Regions from separate parts of the Homo sapiens genome. Here regions 1 and 2 are each linked to region 3. Evidence: promoter capture Hi-C in 16 types of primary human blood cells and fetal thymus (Javierre and others, 2016). All regions are on one chromosome and are shown on one strand. Each heading gives the region's core, a stretch centred on a gene start or on the middle of the fragment in contact. The rest is flanking DNA. Distances are from core to core; before and after follow the strand shown.

Evidence for each region. Contacts are between HindIII fragments. The CHiCAGO score rates a contact against its expected background, and 5 or more counts as called.
Region 1: a contact is called between a fragment that was not itself captured here and the fragment with the promoter of EEF1G in region 3, in 8 of 17 cell types (naive CD4 T cells, neutrophils, activated CD4 T cells and 5 more). The highest score is 8.4, in naive CD4 T cells.
Region 2: a fragment that was not itself captured here is called in contact with the fragment with the promoter of EEF1G in region 3 in 11 of 17 cell types (naive B cells, activated CD4 T cells, monocytes and 8 more); the score reaches 8.3 in naive B cells.

Annotation. Positions count from the first base shown.
Region 1 is chr11:62,885,766-62,888,465 of GRCh38, forward strand. It overlaps SLC3A2 (solute carrier family 3 member 2), which reads left to right. Exons shown (of 9, transcript NM_001013251.3): 8 at 2,370-2,453; 9 at 2,566-2,700. Among named protein-coding and RNA genes, the nearest start is that of SLC3A2, 6.2 kb to the left of the region's middle. The HindIII fragment of the contact is 5,324 bases long and covers 1-2,700 here.
Region 2 is chr11:62,836,154-62,839,108 of GRCh38, forward strand. The region is part of intron 3 of WDR74 (WD repeat domain 74); the gene reads right to left. Among named protein-coding and RNA genes, the nearest start is that of WDR74, 2.0 kb to the right of the region's middle. RefSeq lists an enhancer at 2,861-2,955. The HindIII fragment of the contact is 4,232 bases long and covers 1-2,955 here.
Region 3 is chr11:62,572,559-62,575,540 of GRCh38, forward strand. EEF1G (eukaryotic translation elongation factor 1 gamma) reads right to left here and starts at 1,333. Exons shown (of 10, transcript NM_001404.5): 1 at 1,273-1,333; 2 at 26-184. The coding sequence starts at 1,284. TUT1 (terminal uridylyl transferase 1, U6 snRNA-specific) reads right to left here. Exons shown (of 9, transcript NM_022830.3): 9 at 2,494-2,982. The coding sequence ends at 2,536. RefSeq lists enhancers at 1,302-1,501, 1,457-2,418, 2,202-2,261, 2,419-2,982. The HindIII fragment of the contact is 8,528 bases long and covers 392-2,982 here.

The DNA.
Region 1 (2,700 bases), core at 201-2,700, 310 kb after region 3:
ACCTTTCTGAATTTTGGTCATCCCTTGTGTTACTGCATTTCTTGAAGGGTGGTTAGTATTAAATGAGGGCATGTTTTTAATGGTAATGCCTGGTACCTGGCAGATGTTTGCTATGGTAGCCACCATTCATTTATTCATTCCTTTATTCTTTGGACAGTGGGTACTGTGCTAGGCTCTGTGCCCTCAGGAGCTCATAGTTTAGTGAGGGAGCCAGATAAATAAGTGGAGAAGTACATGGCAGTGGCTGGGCACGGTGGCTCATGCCTGTAATCCTAGCACTTTGGGAGTCCAAGGTGGGTGGATCACTGGAGGTAAGGAGTTCGAAACCAGCCTAGCCAACAGGGTGAAACCCAGTCTCTACTAAAAATACAAAAATTAGCCAGGTGTGGTGGTGCACGCCTGTAGTCCCAGCTACTGGGGAGGCTGAGGCAAGAGAATCGCTTGAACCTGGAGGCAGAGGTTGCAGTGAACTGAGATTGTGCCACTGCACTTTAGCCTGGGCGGCAGAGGGAGACTCCTTCTCCAAAAAAAAAAAGAAAAGAAAAGAAAGAAAGAAATACATGGTAGGGATACTACTACAAAGGCATTCACTAGCTTTAGATACAGGGTTACTGTTGATCCCCGACTTTTTTTTTTTGTTTGTTTGTTTGTTTTTTGTTTTTGTTTTTAAGACAGCATTTCCCTATGTCGCCCAGGCTGGAGTGCAGTGGCATGATCTTGGTTCATTGCAGCCTCCGCCTCCCAGGCCGAAGTGATCATCCCACCTCAGCCTCCTGAGTAGCTGGGATATGTACCATAGATAGGTGCGTGCCATCATGCCCAGCTGATCTTTTTTTTTTTTGGAGACAGGTTCTTGCTCTGTTGATCTGGCTGGATTGCAGTGGTGCGATTATGTCTCACTGCAACCTCTGCCTCTTGGGTTCAAGTGATACTCCTGCCTCAGCTTCCCAAGTAGCTGGGAATACAGGTGGTCTGGGAATACAGGCACACACCACCATGCCCGGCTAATTTTTGTAGAGACAGGCTTTCACTGTTGTTGCCCAGGCTGGTCTCCAACTCCTGGGCTCAATCGCTCTGCCTGCCCTGATCTCCCAAATTGCTGGGACTACAGGTGTGAGCCACTGTGCCTGGCCACAGCTAATTTTTAAAATTTGTAGAGGTGTGGTCTCACTATGTTGCCCAGGCTGTTCTCAAACTCCTGGGTGCAAATGATCCTCCCACCTTGGCCTCCCAAACTGCTATGATTACAGGTGCGAGCCACTGCACCCGGCCATCAGCATGATGTTTATAGAACCAGTTATTCATTTATTCCACAGATGTTTATAGAATAATTTCTGTCTGTTACACTGAGGATACAGCATTGCACAAGAGAGCTGGAGGTGGTTAGATAATTAGATATGCATAAATAAAACGCCAGCTGCTGATCAGTGCTATGCAAAAGAAGGCGGGGTAAGGAGCCTAGAGACTAGGGGATGATGGGGCTTGTTTTATAGAGAGTAGCCATAGGAGACCTGGTAAGATAACCAAGCAGATACCTGAGGGAAGTGAGAGAGCTGGCTGGCAGCCATCTGGGAGCTCTTGGCTGAGGGGCAACAGTGTATGTGTGAGGACCCTGAGGTGGGAGCCTGCCTCACTCATCCAGTAGAAGTTAGCCAGGCCGGGTGTCGTGGCTTATGCCTGTAATCCCAGCACTTTGGGAGGCCAAGGTGGGTGGATCACCTGAGGTCAAGAGTTCGAGACCAGCCTAGCCAACATGGTGAAACCCCGTCTTTACTAAAAATACAAAAAAATTAGCTGGGTGTGGTGGTGCACACCTATGGTCAGCTACTGGGGAGGCTGAGGCAGGAGAATCGCTTGAACCCAGGAGGCAGAGATTGCAGTAAGCCAAGATCGTGCCATTGCACTCCAGCCTGAACAGAGCGAGACTCCGTCTCAAAAAAAAAAAAAAAAAAAAGTTAGCCAGACATGAGTTGGGGAGGTTATATATTGATGAGGATGTGAATGGGAAGAGGGATACGGGACAGTGGGCCCAGGGCTTTTTTTTTGAGACAGGGTCTCACTCTGTTGCCCAGGCTGGAGTACAGTGGTGGAGTCATGGCTCACTGCAAGCTCAAACTCCTGGGTTCAAGTGATCCTCCCTCCTCAGCCTCCCCAGTATCTGGGACTATAGGGATGTAACACTACACCCAGCTAATTTTTAAAAATTTTGTAGTAGAGATGAGGGCTCATTATGTTGCTGAGGCTGGTTTCAAATGCCTGGGCTCAAGCAATCCTCTTGGCCTTGACCTCCCAGACTGCTGGAATTACAGATGTGAGCCACCATGCCTGACCCCAGGCCTTTTTAAAGTCCTATTTTCTCTGCTTTTCAGCCTATGGAGGCTCCAGTCATGCTGTGGGATGAGTCCAGCTTCCCTGACATCCCAGGGGCTGTAAGTGCCAACATGACTGTGAAGGTAAGAGTTCTAGATGGGTAGAAACTGACCGGTGGAGGGTGGGCTGGGCTTGTAGAAGTCTGTACCCAGGGGAGCCCCTCACACGCTTCTGCTATGTTTTTATCATTCTTAGGGCCAGAGTGAAGACCCTGGCTCCCTCCTTTCCTTGTTCCGGCGGCTGAGTGACCAGCGGAGTAAGGAGCGCTCCCTACTGCATGGGGACTTCCACGCGTTCTCCGCTGGGCCTGGACTCTTCTCCTATATCCGC
Region 2 (2,955 bases), core at 169-2,668, 260 kb after region 3:
TATTCTCTAGGCCCCAAACTCATATCAACCAGATTCCCTACTAACAGTCCAGTTTAGAAGGAAGCCTCTAGGTCACTGGGCTCTAGGCAGGGCTTGACAGCTTCCAGCTTCCTAATCTGTTAATTCAACTTTCTCAACAGGGTGAGGGTTTACCAAGTGAGGAAATAGAAGCGCTGAGAAACTAATTTGCCACTCAGCTATGTTACAACCACAGCTAGAAATCAACTCTGTGATATTCCAGAGTGCTTTTGCTGTTCACAGCTATGTCTAGCATCTGGCTGTACTGGTCTGTCTGAATCTTGAGTTGCTTACTAGGGCTGGTCTGAATTTAGGGCTTGGTCAAAGTCAAACACCAACTTCTTGGGTTCCTTGCTCTGAGTTTCAGGCACTAAATGTCAGTCTCTTGCTTAAAATATCCCTCCCGAGAAGTCCAAGCAAGTCTCTCCCCAGGATCTGCACAGCCTGCGCCTATGTTCTTTCTCACACCTGCCAACCCTCCCTAGCTGGGTTCGGGCTCTGTATCGACTTGCCTGACCTGTGGCAAAAGTCTCCCAGTTGCTGTCTCCAATCCATCCTCCATACTCCTACAGGCTCCCAGTGCTGACTATGGTACTTCCTATTCAAAAACTGATAACTTGGCCAGGCACAGTGGCTCACGCCTATAATCCCAGCACTTTGGGAGGCCAAGGCAGGCAGATCACCTGAGGTCAGGAGTTCCAGACCAGCCTGGCCAACATATAGTGAAATCTTGTCTCTACTAAAAAATACAAAAATTAGCTGGGTGTGGTGGTACATGCCTGTAGTCCTAGCTACTTGGGAAGTTGAGGCAGGAGAATCGCCTGAACCAGGGAGGTGGAGGTTGCAGTGAGCCGAGATCATGCCACTGCACTTCAGCCTCAGTGACAGAGCAAGACTCCGTCTCTCAGAAAAACAAAAACAATAAATGAATAACTCACCAACACCAATAAAAGTGCACATCTCTCAACCTAGCACTTAAAGCCCTTTACATTTAATCCCAACCTAATATAGTGTTCATCTTGTATTAAAATGCTTCCTTGGCCGGGTGCAGTGGTTCACGCCTGTAATCCCAGCATTTTGGGAGGCTGAGGTGGGCGGATTGCCTGAGGTCAGGAGTTCCAGACTAGCCTGGCCAACATAGTGAAACCCTGTCTCTAATAAAAATACAAAAAAAACTTAGCTGGGCGTGGTGGCGGATGCCTGTAATCCCAGCTACTCAGGAGGCTGAGGCAAGAGAATCGCTTGAGCCTGGGAGGCAGAAGTTGCAGTGAGCCGAGACTGTGCCACTGCACTCCAGCCTGGGCAACAGAGTGAGACTCCGTATATAAAAAAAAAACAAAAAACAAAAAAAAAAAAACGCTTCCTTGTTATCAACTTCCAAATCAAATGCTATTTATCCTATTTATGTACCCTGTAGCATGCCTCCAGTCCTTGGCCTCTCCCAGGCAGTACCCTCTTTCTAGAATACCCTTATCCCCTTCTCCACCAGTCAAAATTCTACCCATCCCTCAAGAACCAGTTCAGACATCCAGTCCCCCCCACAGGCTTTCCAGACCTCACCTGTCAGAATTACCACCACCAAACCTATGCAGCCTGCTTCACAGCCCTCTTTCATCATCTTTGGAAGAAAGCAAGGCCAGTCATCCAACCACTTAGCACCTTCCTAATCTTTGCTTTCAGAGCTACATCACCTTGTTGGTGGTTGAGCTCAAGTTGAGCCCAGGAGTTTGAGACTGGCCTGGGCACACAGTGAGACCCCATCTCTATAAAAAACTTAAAAATTTAGCTGGGCAGGGTGACACCTGCCTGTGGTCCCAGGTACTCAGGAGGTTGAGGCGGGAGGATCGTTTGACCCCGGGAGGTTGAGGCTGTAGTGAGCCATGAATGCACCACTGCACTCAAGCCTAGGTGACACAGTGAGGCTCTGTCTCAAAAAATATAAATGAATTAATAATGAATTAATGAATGCATGCTTAAAACTTTTTTTGTTGTTTTTTTTGAGATGGAGTCTTGCTCTGTTTCACAGACTGGAGTGCACTGGTGCGATCTCTGCTCACTGCAACCTCTGCGGGACGGATTCAAGCGATTCTCCAGCCTCGGCCTCCCAAGTAGCTGGGATTACAGGCATGAGCCACCACACCCGGATAATTTTTGTATTTTTTTAGTAGAGAAGGGGTTTTACCGTGCTGGCCAGGCTGGTCTTGAACTCCTGACCTCAAGTGATCCACCTATCTCGGCCTTCCAAAGTGCTGGGATGACAGGCATGAGCCACCACACCCAGCCTTGCTTAAAACTATTAAATGACAAGCAGGCACAGTGGCTCACGCCTGTAATCCCAGCACTTTGGGAGTCCGAGGCAGGTGGATCACCTGAGGTCAGGAGTTCGAGACCAGCCTAGCCAATACGGTGAAACCCCGTCTCTACTAAAGATACAAAAATAGCCGCGCGTGGTGGCAGACGCCTGTAATCCCAGGTACTTGGGAGGCTGAGGCAGGAGTATCGCTTGAACCCGGGAGGCGGAGGTTGCAGTGAGCCGAGATCGCGCCACTGCACTCCAGCCTGGGCAACAAGAGCGAAAACTCCGTCTCCAAAAAAAAAAAAAACAAAAAACAAACACACACACACACAAAACTATTAAATGACTTGCCCATGGTTACTTAGAGGATTATAATGGAGTCAGGTGAAAAACCTTAGAGGATGAGAACTTTTTGAAGGCAGAAATTTTACCGGCAGCCCCTGTACTTCTCCCAGTGCCTGGAATTCAGTAGGTGTTCAATAAATGTGTGTTACAGGTATGAACTACATAAGGCAGAAACCCAGGTCCCTGTCACCCATTCAAAGCCGTGTCACTAAGAGTTTGCCTGTCGCCATCATTCCAGTATCCTCAGGGAGCATCAACGCTCTCCCTTCGGCCCTGAGTTTAGCGAGGGGATTGGT
Region 3 (2,982 bases), core at 83-2,582:
GGATGCTCCCCATCTCCCAACTCACCTTGCCGGCAGGAAATTTGCGGAGAAATTCAGGGGTGCGGTTGGTTTGGCCAAAATGGAAGTGGGGTGGTGCGGAGAGCACGCGGACCTGAGCCCCGCTGTACTGAGCAGCGATGAGAGCCTTGAAGGCCCTCCAGTTTTCAGGATACGTGTACAGGGTCTATGGGAGAAAGAGAGGGACAAAATTAATGAGTAGAAGGGTCCCAGTCCTTAATGCCACTCTCCAGGATGACTTTCCTGAATAATCCCAATGTATTCAACTCACCCTTTTACTTCCTCTGGTGAACCAAGTCCTTTAGTACTTGTCATATGTAATCAGAATCCTCCGAAATACCAAGAACAGAACTACACACCAACTGCTAAATAAAGCTTGTTGACAGATTTGACCTTCCCTAAGGACACCTCTGGAAGTATTCTCTTCCTCTCAAATCTATCTCCAAGAAATCCAGAACTTCTAGCTCCATCAGACTCCATCTGCCTACAAACATACTCTCCTCCCTTCCCGGAGCCCTCGCTTCATTCATTGATGGTTCCGAGCGCCTGCCTACTCTACTGCTCAGCTGCTCACCGCTTCAAAAGCATCGTCCTGTCTCTAAGGCACGCACGACGATCGAGAGATTTCTAGTTCCCCTCAGACTAGCCAGAGATAGGGGATGGCATGCCGTCTTCTTAAATCAACTCCTCTCTCTCAAAAAGCCTTTCTTTCCGTGTCGCGAATATCATCCCTCCGGTCCTGTCCCGCAGCGAGTTCCCCGGCGTTGGGCTTCTCTATTATGCCGGCCAGCGGAGTCCAATTGGTCTGACTTCACTGTCCGGAGAATCCTCTCGCTCCCAAACCTCCCTGAGAGACGACCTTTAACCGTGCCAGCCGGACCTGCCTACAAAGACCCTCCTCTTCAACCTGTCCCCTGTGTTACTCCACAAAACGGACACAGAAGTTCGTCAACCTGCCCAGATACCACGCCTCAAAGCGGCAACAGAGCCGAACCCCTTTCTCAGGCTTCGGACGGCCCAGACCCGGCATCTCTTTTCTCCTCTTCCCCAGACCCTTCCACCTCTGGCCTCCGAGAGCCCCAGCCTCAGTTCCCCTCCAGGCCCTAGGAACCCTACTCTCCAGCAGTACAGTCTGTAGACCCCCGAATCAGTTCCCCACTCAACCTCAGAACTCCTCTGGCGCCGACTGGCCCCACTCGGGCAAAGGATGGCGGTGGATAGGATGACCCGAACCACCAGAGCCAGCAAACTTACCCCAGCCGCCATGGTGATTCCGCAAAGAAAGGGGGTGGGGTTCTCGGCGCTGCCGCAAAGTAAGCCGCCCGGGAGAGAAGGGAGGGGGAAAGAGGAGAGCCGTGGAGAAACAGCAGCCGGAAAGCGAGGACGAAACAGAAGACATACGTACGACAGTTCGGTATCCAGTGGCGCTGAATTGGAAAAAGAACTGGGTGGGTGGGGCCTGCTGGCCAGCGCGGAAAAAGCTCGGGCCTGCGCATTGGAGCTCTTGACTGGCCCGCCCCCCAGGTGCAGCGGGCCAATCGGAGTCTAGACGTGGAGGTAGACAGCGTGGAGGGCGGGGAAGTTGTGAGAACCCGCTGGAAAAGCCGCGAGTTCTTGGCTACGTGGCGCGGTTGTTGGCCCGGCGCGGCCAGTGCTACTGGGGGCGTCCCTCTCTGGCCCTCCCAGGGACAAGTGACTTGATGGTAGATTTTGCCAAGCCCCTCACATGATTCTATGAAACTCATGGGAGCGAGGAACAGCTGCTGCGCGGAGGTGGCAGTGTGTGTGCTAAATCCCTTTAGTTCCTGCTCTGCTTTTCCTCCAGAAAGGGATGAGCGTCTAACAGGGGCCCCGGTCTGAACCCGCCTGCCAAAGTGAGGTTTGCTCACATCCAACCCCTGACAGCTCCAGGGTGCTGTTACTGCGAGCAGGGCACCGGCCCTCCGGCCCGAAGCAGGGCAGGGACATGAGGGAGAACGCGCCCTGTCCCTCCCACCTCCTCCGGACTCGGCCCCTGGAGGGGCTGACGCTGGAAGACCTGACATCGTCGCTTCTGATGTTCATGGCTTTTGACCCATGTTCAGGTTTGAAATCTCTTACCCAGTTTAAGAACGGGATGAACTCTCCTCGTTTAAAGGAGAGAATGAAGAACGCTGAACGCAAATCTCCGTCCTTGTGCGCATAAATCTGAGGCGACAGGAAGAATGTGGAGGCAAACCTGGCTCTTCTCAGTACTGCTGGAGCCACCCACCGCTCTGCCATTCAGGAACTCTGCGCGGGTGCCAGGTGCCACGCGCGGTGCTGCCCCCGCACTCCCCTCGAGCTGTGCGAACTGTAGGAAGGAGAAGCTGGTGGGGTGGAGAGCAACAGGGAGAGACCCATGTTCGGGGTCAGACGGGAGCAGCTGCAGGAAGTTCTGGGGGAGGGGAAGGGGGATTATGACCAGATGGAAATGAAAGGAAACGGGAGACTGTATTAATAAACTAGCAGCTTTATTGCCCTTCAGGGGCCATGTCTTCACTTGAGATGTCGAATTGCTTGAGGGAGGAAAACCTGTAAGAAATGATGGAGATCAGGGAACAGGCCTTGGGGATCCTGGAGCGGGGTCACAGTGAGCATTCGGTCAGCCGGGGAGACAGACGCCACAAAGCTCAGCAGGGGCTCAGTTTCTGGCCTCTCTTCGCCACCACTCAGTCCTTTCAGCTCCTGGGTGACCTGAGCCTCAGTCGCCAGCCACCCTGCTCTTGTGCCAGCGCCACCTCCAGCTCCCTCCTTGGTTTGCTGCTGCAAGCGTCTACGGGCTCGCCGCCGCCCTTGCCACACTCGGTGCCACAAGGCACAGCGCCAGCTCGCTGAGGAGGGCAGGGATGCCCCCTTCCCTGCCTCACCCTGAGACCATTCTTGGGCTGCCTCATGTCCCTTGGGCCCCCGCTCTGCCAGGGCTGCGTGGCTGGGCTGCCCCTC